Regions from separate parts of the Homo sapiens genome. Here all the other regions are linked to region 2. The links are contacts of gene promoters, found by promoter capture Hi-C in blood cells and fetal thymus (Javierre and others, 2016). All regions are on one chromosome and are shown on one strand. Each heading gives the region's core, a stretch centred on a gene start or on the middle of the fragment in contact. The rest is flanking DNA. Distances are from core to core; before and after follow the strand shown. Region 1 holds the start of STEAP3 (STEAP3 metalloreductase). Region 2 holds the start of MARCO (macrophage receptor with collagenous structure). Region 3 holds the start of C2orf76 (chromosome 2 open reading frame 76).

Region 1 (2,700 bases), core at 37-2,536, 280 kb before region 2:
ACTGAGAGGACACACCCAGGTGAGACCCTTTGGTTTTGTGGACCTTCTGGCTCTCAGCACTGTATTCTTGGGGCTGCCAGAATCCCCGTGAGGACACAGCCTGTTTCGCCCCAGTGGTAGGTTCCTCTGGGCTCCAAGTCAGATAACTCTGGGTTCAAATTCTACTTCTGCAACTTCCTAGCTGTGTATCCTTGCAAAATACGTGGACTCTCTGAGGCTGTTTCCCCATTTTTAACAAGAGATAATGGTGCCTTCCTGTTGTGAGGATTAACTGGGATATTGTGCTCAAAGCCCTTAGCAAGATGCCTGGCACACATAAATGGGAATATCTGCTGTTAATTATATTATGGCTGCACTCTGATGGACAGAAATACCTCCCTGGGGGCATTTCCAGAATCCCCACTTCTGGAGCCCATCTCTGAGGTGGCCCTGGATATTTGGGAGGCCTCTCTGTGCCCTCTGCCAGGGCTCCAGCGGGACCTTCCTGCTTCTCCCCACGGATCCGGCTTTCTGGTCCCCAAACCGCATATTATCTGGGCACACCCTCCCCTTCATTTACCCAGAGTGACCAAAGTTCCAACCACACCTCTCCGGGCAGCCTGTCCCCAAATTTCGGGGAAGTGGGCAGGAGGGGGAGCTTTGCCGGGCAGGAGGGGGAACTTTGCCAGGCAAGGGCTCCGCGGGCAGAGGCGGGCACTGGTGAGGCCAGCCTCCTCCTGGGGACCAAGGTCGGGCGCCCCTGCCCAGCCCCTGCACCTGCCCCTGTCCCTGCCCTGTTCGGCTGCGAAGGGACTGGGAGGTCTGGCGAGGAAGAGCCTGGAAGATCCCCGCCCACAGCTACCAGCCCTCCTTTGGGACCGCTGGCCAGAGCCCCAGCCGTGGGGCACACGGGACCTGTGGACTCAGCCGGGGTCATCCGGAGGGGCGCCCACATCTGCACCCGGGGCTCCGGAGCCTGCTCCCCGCCACTGTCGCCGCCGGCCCTGCCTAACCTGCGCGGCGCAAGCGGCTTCCACGCCTAGGGAAGGAAGGCACACGGGGTGGGGGCCCCGGAACCCGGTTTCTCTGCCGCCGGGCGCACGTGGCTCGGTCCCAGGGGACAGAAGTCGCCTCCAGACGTGTGGCGGCACCCGAGGTCCGCGCAGCGACGGCGCAGGGTGCAACCGGGCGGGCGTCTCGGGGACCGGGCGCAGCACGCAGCCCCGCGGAGACCGGGGGAGGGTACACTCACCTCTGCGGCCCGCCGCTCGGAGCGACCGCGGCAGCTGAAGGTCCGCGGCGAAGGCGGTGGCTCGGCCCGAGGCTCCTCCTCCCCCGCGCCCCACCCGCCCGGGAGGGCCGGACCTGCAGGGGAGGTGGCCGCCCTCCAGCCCGCCGCAGCTTATCCGGCTCGGCCACCTCCCCCGGGGCCGCAATCAGGAGCCGCCGGGTCCTCGCTCCCCGCCCAGCCCTGCACAGCCCCGGCAGCGGTGGCAGCGTCCAACCACCCTCCTCCCCTGGCCCCAGGCGGGAGGTCGCCAGCCGGCGCCAACACTTCCTGATTTGCAGTGCCCGGCACACGGCTGAAGTGAGCAGAACTCCGGGACCTCCTCTTAACCCGGCCACGGAGGGCACCGAGGCCAGGGTGACCTCTAGGCCCCCCTCTCTTAACCTGAGGAGCACCTCGAATCCTTGTCCATTTTATAACCGAGGCCAAGTGGCAGCCACGGTTGCAGGTGGGAAGAGACCAGGGCTCCAGATTGGGTCCGGATCCCTTCCCTCTCAACAAGGTTGCGCCCAGGCCTTTGTGGTCCCCCCCCAATCTCTGTCCCTTGTCCACCCTTAGGGCAGACTTTTGACCCTTCCCAGCAGTCCTCAGGTTCCAAGACCGGTGGGATGGCGGGTACCTTTCTCCCGGAGCTGCCTCCCTGTCTAGGCCTTCTGGGCTCTGAAACCCTACCCGTCCCCCCTTCCCCCTGGGGCACTGCCCGCTGCCCTCCGCACTTCCAATGCCGATGGCTTCACAGCACTGCAGCGAAGCAGGGCGTAAGTAAGGGGAGGCTGTCTGTGGGCACCTCTCTAGAGGTGTGCGCCCTGGTCCGAAGCCCCTTCTCACCTGTGGTCACATTTGCCGGCTGCAGTTATTTTCTTTACAGGTGAGGAGACCCGGGCTTTTCCGCTCAGATTCGTGGAGGCTGAGTGGGGGTTCCTGACCCCTGGTACTCTTTCTAGAGTATTCCTGGGAGACATACACTATTAGCCTCTGATAAGGAGCTTCAGGTTATTTTTAGGAAGTCTAAGAATCCTGTTTTCTGGGGAGCCAGCCTCTGTTGGGGAGATAAGCCTCCGGAGGCCAGAGGCAGGAGCTGGGCCTCAAGGAAGGCCCCACAACTGGACCCCAAAGGGCACGGTGGGGAGGAAGAGGCAGAGCTCTGGTCTCCCTGTGGAGGGAGTGCTGCTGTAAAGCGCCTTTCCCTCCACCCCCAACTCCCGCCGAGAACCCCCCCACCCCCGCAGGCAGTTTGCTTTCCCCCTCCACAGCTTTCCTCCTACCCGAATACCCACCTCCCAGCTCTCTGCTCAGCCAGGGCCCAAGGCCAGAGCCTCTCTTCTCTTGCAAGAACTTTCCTGTCCCACCTTGCCCCAGGGCAACACCTCTTATGGCAATTCTTACAGGTCCTTTATCCATTCAACACTCACAGTGCCCCAGGTGCCAGACAG
Region 2 (2,700 bases), core at 72-2,571:
CGTGCCAGAAGCCAGAGGCCAGAGGCTATGTTTATTCAAGCCTGTTTCCTCAGTGCTGAGTGCAGTGCCCTGCTGGAAATAGGTGCTGAGTATGCTTGATCAGCTGACTTTGCTTGAACATCTTCAGTCTCTTAAACAGTCATGTATCCAGAATGTTGCATTCTGAGAAGTTCTAAATAGCCAATGATTATTATAGCCATTAGCACTCACACCTTTCTCTGTTATTACACTGTAAATTCCTAGAGGCAGAGCCCCAGACGCTTCATCTTTGTGCGCTGAAAATTCCAGGCAGGGACCTGGGCAGACAGGTGTGGGATGAGAAGGACACTCTGGCCAGGAGATAAAGCCACCAATTTTCCTGCATAGACAACTTCCAGCAAAGCCTGGGAGTGGAAATGACTGATCAACTTGGAAGATGATCCCAAGAGAACGTTCTAGACTAGGAAATCAGAGCTCATTTGTGGAATGCAAGCCCACCCATGACTTCAAATGCTACAAATTCTAGAAGATTTTAAAAATGCATCACCTGTTGAATGCTGAGTGAGAAAATAAAGACAACAGAGTTGACTGAATATTACAGACCTGAGTTTAACCTAAGACAAACTAATTATGAAGCTATGAACATATTTCAGTCAACATGAAATACAGAATATGTTTCCTGACCAGCACATCAGTTATAACAGAAATCCCCTTAAAGAATTTTAAAGAAGCTGTGTTTTGAAAACTGTCATGCTTGGCTTCAGTTTTGTGGTCCCCTTTCAGTGCCCCTGTTTTGCGTTTTCATTGTATCACCCAACCTGTGTGTCAGAATAAGACATTCATTAAAAAAAGGGGACATTTAATAAGCATTGGCATTTTTTCAAGGGAAAATATTTAAATATGATTAAAACAATAGTGAAGCTAAGAAAAACCTGACTATATGCTAAAAATACAGCATCTATTATTAGCATTCCAGAAATTCCAAATTGAAGCACTCCAGACAGTATTAGTGATGATTACGTGCAAAATGCAGCAATAAGCCAAACCTAGACTTTCTATTGACTTGTCTATTTTCGTATCTCGCTAGCAGAAAGACTACATTTCTGGTCATTTCCATTATTGGGGAATCGTACTTTACCATTGATTTCGAAAGGCTCCATTGCAATTTGGTGAAAAGCAGCTTGTTGGGTCTCACTCAAGAGCTCGTCCTCCTTGAGAATTTTCTTATTTCTCATTGCCAAGCTTTATAGATGGCCAAAGTCCTGGAGCCAGCAGAAATGCTCCCCTCAAGAGGAACCACTTGGAGAAAGATCCTTCCCATCGAACCACTGCAGCTGGTTGTAAACCTCGCAGCACTTCCCTTTGGCTCTGATTTCAGAATTTGCAGGATGTTTCCTGACATGATCAGGATTGGACATTTCTCAAACACGGGCTATTCACATGTGGATCTCCCACACAGTGCTGCTGCTTGTTAAGGGGGATCGAGGAGGCTTTGGGACACAAGTTACGGGCCTCTGAATGCACCCGTCACTCCCAGGTCCCTGAGACCCAAAAGCTGGATGGCTCCAGAGAGGGCCAACCAAGCCCTGCCATGGGCCCAGACTCAGCTCTCTGTCCCAGGACCTCTCCAGCCCACAGTGAAATCTCCCTTCTCTGACCTGCCTCAACCTTTAGAGTTCATCCTTGCTGCTCAAAGTGTGGTCCATGGACCAGCAGTATTAGTATCACCTGAGAACTTGTTAGAAATGCAAGTTCACTTGTTCTAACAATGAGTCTCTGGTCCCACCCCATCAGATCAAATCCAAATCTACAGTTTAACTAGATCCCCAGGTGATTTATATACACATTACAGTTTGAGAAGCCTTGCTCTGAACCACACATTTTAGCACTTAGTATTTCTTCTTGTAGTTTTCCCATGTTCTCTCTCTGTGTGTGTACACATGTGTGCACATGTGTACATGTGTTACAGGTGTCCTTGTCCAGGCCCCAGTGAGATCTGAGCTCCTTAAGGAAAGTAGCTTCTCCCCTCTCTCCCTCCCGTCAGGCATCTCTACCAGGGATGCTGTATAGCATGGTGGTTAAGACACAGACACTAAGAGCTAGAATGCCTGGCTTCAAATTCCACCTCTTCCACATAGGGGCTGTCTGGCAGTAGGCAAATCACTTGAGCTTTGAGCATCTCACTCTTCTGTTTGTATAAATAAGGAAGATATGAATTTCGTGAGCCTTAAATGAATTAAATCATATAAGGTGGCTAGGATGGAAGTATTAGGTAATAAACACTATGGTCATGTTGTTGTTATTATCATTAGAGACATTGTGAGCCTGCTGGGCACCGAGGAGATGAAGAAATGGCCTTTTTTCATGAAAGATATTCACAGTCTACCATGCAAGATGGTTGCGGCTACAACTACATTCCAGAAAATTGCTGTGAAGTGCGGCAAAGGTTGATGTCCCTGAAAAGACAGAAGTGCCGGGAGGCAGGGGAGACAGGGCAGAAATATGACAAATAGCTTTATCATCTGAATCAAGAGATATCAGATACCAGAGCTGGGCTTAAAAGGATAATGGGGGATTGATCCAGATCAAGATGAGGCAAAGGCCCTCCAGGGAGGAAGGAGGGCAGGTGCAGCCTCTCAGAGGTGGGACAGCCTGGAGCAGGGGAGCCGTAGACTTTTGGCCTATTTGAAATGTAAGAGGTGAGGAAGACAGGTGGCAGGA
Region 3 (2,700 bases), core at 87-2,586, 420 kb before region 2:
AGAGGATTGAGGGCCTCCTCTGGGTGGGAGAGGGTAAGAATCCTACTGTGGCCTGATGACAGCCCAGTTACGGGGATGGAGAGGTGGGAAAGGTGGCACCCTTCGGGCAATGCAGCCCCTGAAGTGTGTCTGCCCCTCCCTGCCCCAACAGGGCAGCTAGAAAGATTCAGCAACACAAGAAGGGGAAGCCCCTCCAGTTCACTCATTCAATCGAAAACCATATATCCAGAGCTCTCACAAACGCAGGCATCAGGTCTGGAAATACAGCAGTGAAGAGGGCAGGCCAAGCCTTCGCCCCCAGTGGGGGTCCCCTCTGCGGGAGAAGCAGCGCGGCCAACTGCCTGGCCACCACCGGGCCAGGCACTAGGGAGTGGCCGGGGCTGCAGCGAAGCCCTGGCCTGAGGACAGACGGGGCACAGTATGCTGGAAACAGCTGAAAGGGGACAGGGCATGAGTGCCGCGGTGTCAGCGCCGGAGCCCGTTGGTCCCCTCCCTCCCCCTGGGGCCCGCGCGTTCAACACCGACCTCTGTCCCAGTGCCCGGATTGGCAGAGGCAGGCGGGAGGAGCCAGAGGTCGCCCCACATAGCTCGGTCTCAGACAAGGGTCTACACTGGAGAGAAGGGAGGGGCCCCTGGGTCACCTCTCCCCGGGCCGCGATTCTCCTCGTCCCGCACTCTGAGCAGCCGGCCCCGTACTTCCCCTGACCTCCAAGCTCTCGGCCACGGACTCCTCGCTTCCCCACTCCGCCGCGACGTCCTGCCCTGTGCTTCGGGATGGGGACTGAGTCTCCTCGCTCCTCCAATCCGTGCAACCCCTTCCCCCATCTCTCCATCAAGCACCCTCGACTCCCACCCCTCTCCCGCTACACAGCGAAGTCCACCCCATGGGCAACTTTCCGGCAGTTGCGGGGTGGGCAGCAGATTTAGAAATCCCCAAACGGAAAATCCCGCTCACAAGGCTCTGTCCAACGAATCAGGGCTAGGCATGGGCCCATGAGCAAGTGAGGGGCACGGAAGGAAAGAGCCCGAGAGCTTCTGGCAGCCGGCTGAGCCCCCAACGGGCCTCCCGCCCGCTGCACCTTCGCAGCCTGGCTGTGCACGCGCTGTACCTGAGACATCCTGGCCGACTTGCAAGAACTCCAGGGAGACAGCGGAGGAGGCGAGGACCAGGAAGCGATCGCCCAGATTGCACTGGCAAGCGCCTTTAGAGGCGCGGTCCACTCGCCCCAACCCTGCTCGGGCGAGCACCGGAAAGCCAATCAGAAGCCAGCTATGCGCTAGGGGCGTGCCCAGCCCCCGCCGCGGCGCTAGCCCCGCCCGAGCCCACGTGGGACCGCTTGCGCAAACGCCGGGAGTAGCCGAAGGGGACGCCGGGAACAGGTGGGGACAACGGAAGTAGGGTGCTTAGTTTTGCTGCCGGGAGTTGGTCGAGAGTTGGGTTCAGTCCTGGCCCGTTGTGGGGACGGCACGCGGGGGAAGGGGAGGGGACGGAGACCGAAGAACGGAGGTCCTTATGTTTCTTTTCTTTCCTTAAATCTTGCCCGGCCTGAAGAGGCCGGAAGTTGCATCTCTGGACAAGTAAACTCTGAGACCTGGGAATGGCGGGCGGGACCCGCTCCTCCCTTGGGGTCTAGAGGAGACCCCCGGAGATGGTCCCTGATGAGCAGCGTGATGGTGGAAAGCTGGACTGGTCTCCCGAAAGGCGAAGCCGAGGCTTCTTCCTCTGAACTTTTGGCACGTTCTTTGACTTGCTTGTGGCCGTAGTGTCAGGCCTGTATTGCACATTTATGTCTGTGGTGCATTTCTCCATCTGGTGCGTTAAAGGCAGGGACGGTGTCTTATTTGTCTTGATTTAACAAACTTGGACGGGACGAAGTGCTCAGCAAATATTTGTTAAATGAATGGCTGTTTATTGAACTCCTGTTGGGTAACTTGCACTGTTCTAGACCTTGGCAGACAGCAGTGAACAAAGCGGGTGAATCCCTGCAATCTTGGAACTTACAAGTAGGGACAGTAGTTTATACAATAAGTTAAATATAGAGTACTTTAGGGGCTTAGAGAGTTGGAAGTTTATAGTTTTAAATGGAGGAGGGGGAGTATTGAGGGAAGGTGACATTTGAGAAAGTTCCTCAAGGAGGGGAGGGAAGATTCCAAGCAGAGAACAAGTGTAAAGGCGTGGGCAAGGAACCAGGGGAAGAGTAGAAAGATGAGGCTGGAGAGTTTTGGCGGTGGCAGACTGGCTAGGTGATGCAGAAGTTGGCCATCACAGGGACTTTGACTGTCATGCTGAGTGAGATGGGAAATCGTAAAAGGGTTTGAAAAGAGGATGAGGAGACGGAGGGGAACGTCTTTGCGAGATTGTTACACAGCCTAATCTCCATGGGAACTGAAAGGAGCAGCACAGGTGTCTGGAAGTGTTTTAGGATCGATGTTTAAGAAGCTAAAGGAAGACTTCTCTGGCAGTGGTTGCAAAGGAGCTGGGTGAAGAGAGGGAAATGATGGAAAATTCTCTGGAGATCATTAAAAAAGCAAAGTCATTCCTCTCTAATTCATAATTTGTGGCAAGAGGGCTGGACTACAAATCTCTGCCCTGCCTACACCTTCCCCCTCCCCAGGGAAGGTAGACGCTTTCAGACTTAACTTGCTAACTTAATGTAGGTCACGTTTTATGGAATGTTTGGGAAGAAATGAAGATGCAAT

What was found. Contacts are between HindIII fragments. The CHiCAGO score rates a contact against its expected background, and 5 or more counts as called.
Region 1: the fragment with the promoter of STEAP3 here is called in contact with the fragment with the promoter of MARCO in region 2 in 3 of 17 cell types (monocytes, M2 macrophages and M1 macrophages); the score reaches 8.5 in monocytes.
Region 3: the fragment with the promoter of C2orf76 here is called in contact with the fragment with the promoter of MARCO in region 2 in 2 of 17 cell types (M2 macrophages and M0 macrophages); the score reaches 10.9 in M2 macrophages.

The regions. Positions count from the first base shown.
Region 1 is chr2:119,222,420-119,225,119 of GRCh38, reverse strand. It overlaps STEAP3 (STEAP3 metalloreductase), which reads right to left and starts at 1,286. Exons shown (of 6, transcript NM_182915.3): 1 at 1,232-1,286. RefSeq lists silencers at 634-703, 764-1,543. The HindIII fragment of the contact is 5,957 bases long and covers 1-2,700 here.
Region 2 is chr2:118,940,815-118,943,514 of GRCh38, reverse strand. MARCO (macrophage receptor with collagenous structure) reads right to left here and starts at 1,321. Exons shown (of 17, transcript NM_006770.4): 1 at 1,118-1,321. The coding sequence starts at 1,214. The HindIII fragment of the contact is 9,171 bases long and covers 1,224-2,700 here.
Region 3 is chr2:119,365,470-119,368,169 of GRCh38, reverse strand. C2orf76 (chromosome 2 open reading frame 76) reads left to right here and starts at 1,336. Exons shown (of 6, transcript NM_001322331.2): 1 at 1,336-1,380. DBI (diazepam binding inhibitor, acyl-CoA binding protein) reads right to left here and starts at 1,193. Exons shown (of 4, transcript NM_001079862.4): 1 at 1,110-1,193. The coding sequence starts at 1,118. RefSeq lists enhancers at 73-272, 803-1,132, 1,503-1,762 and a silencer at 1,233-1,382. The HindIII fragment of the contact is 12,909 bases long and covers 1-2,700 here.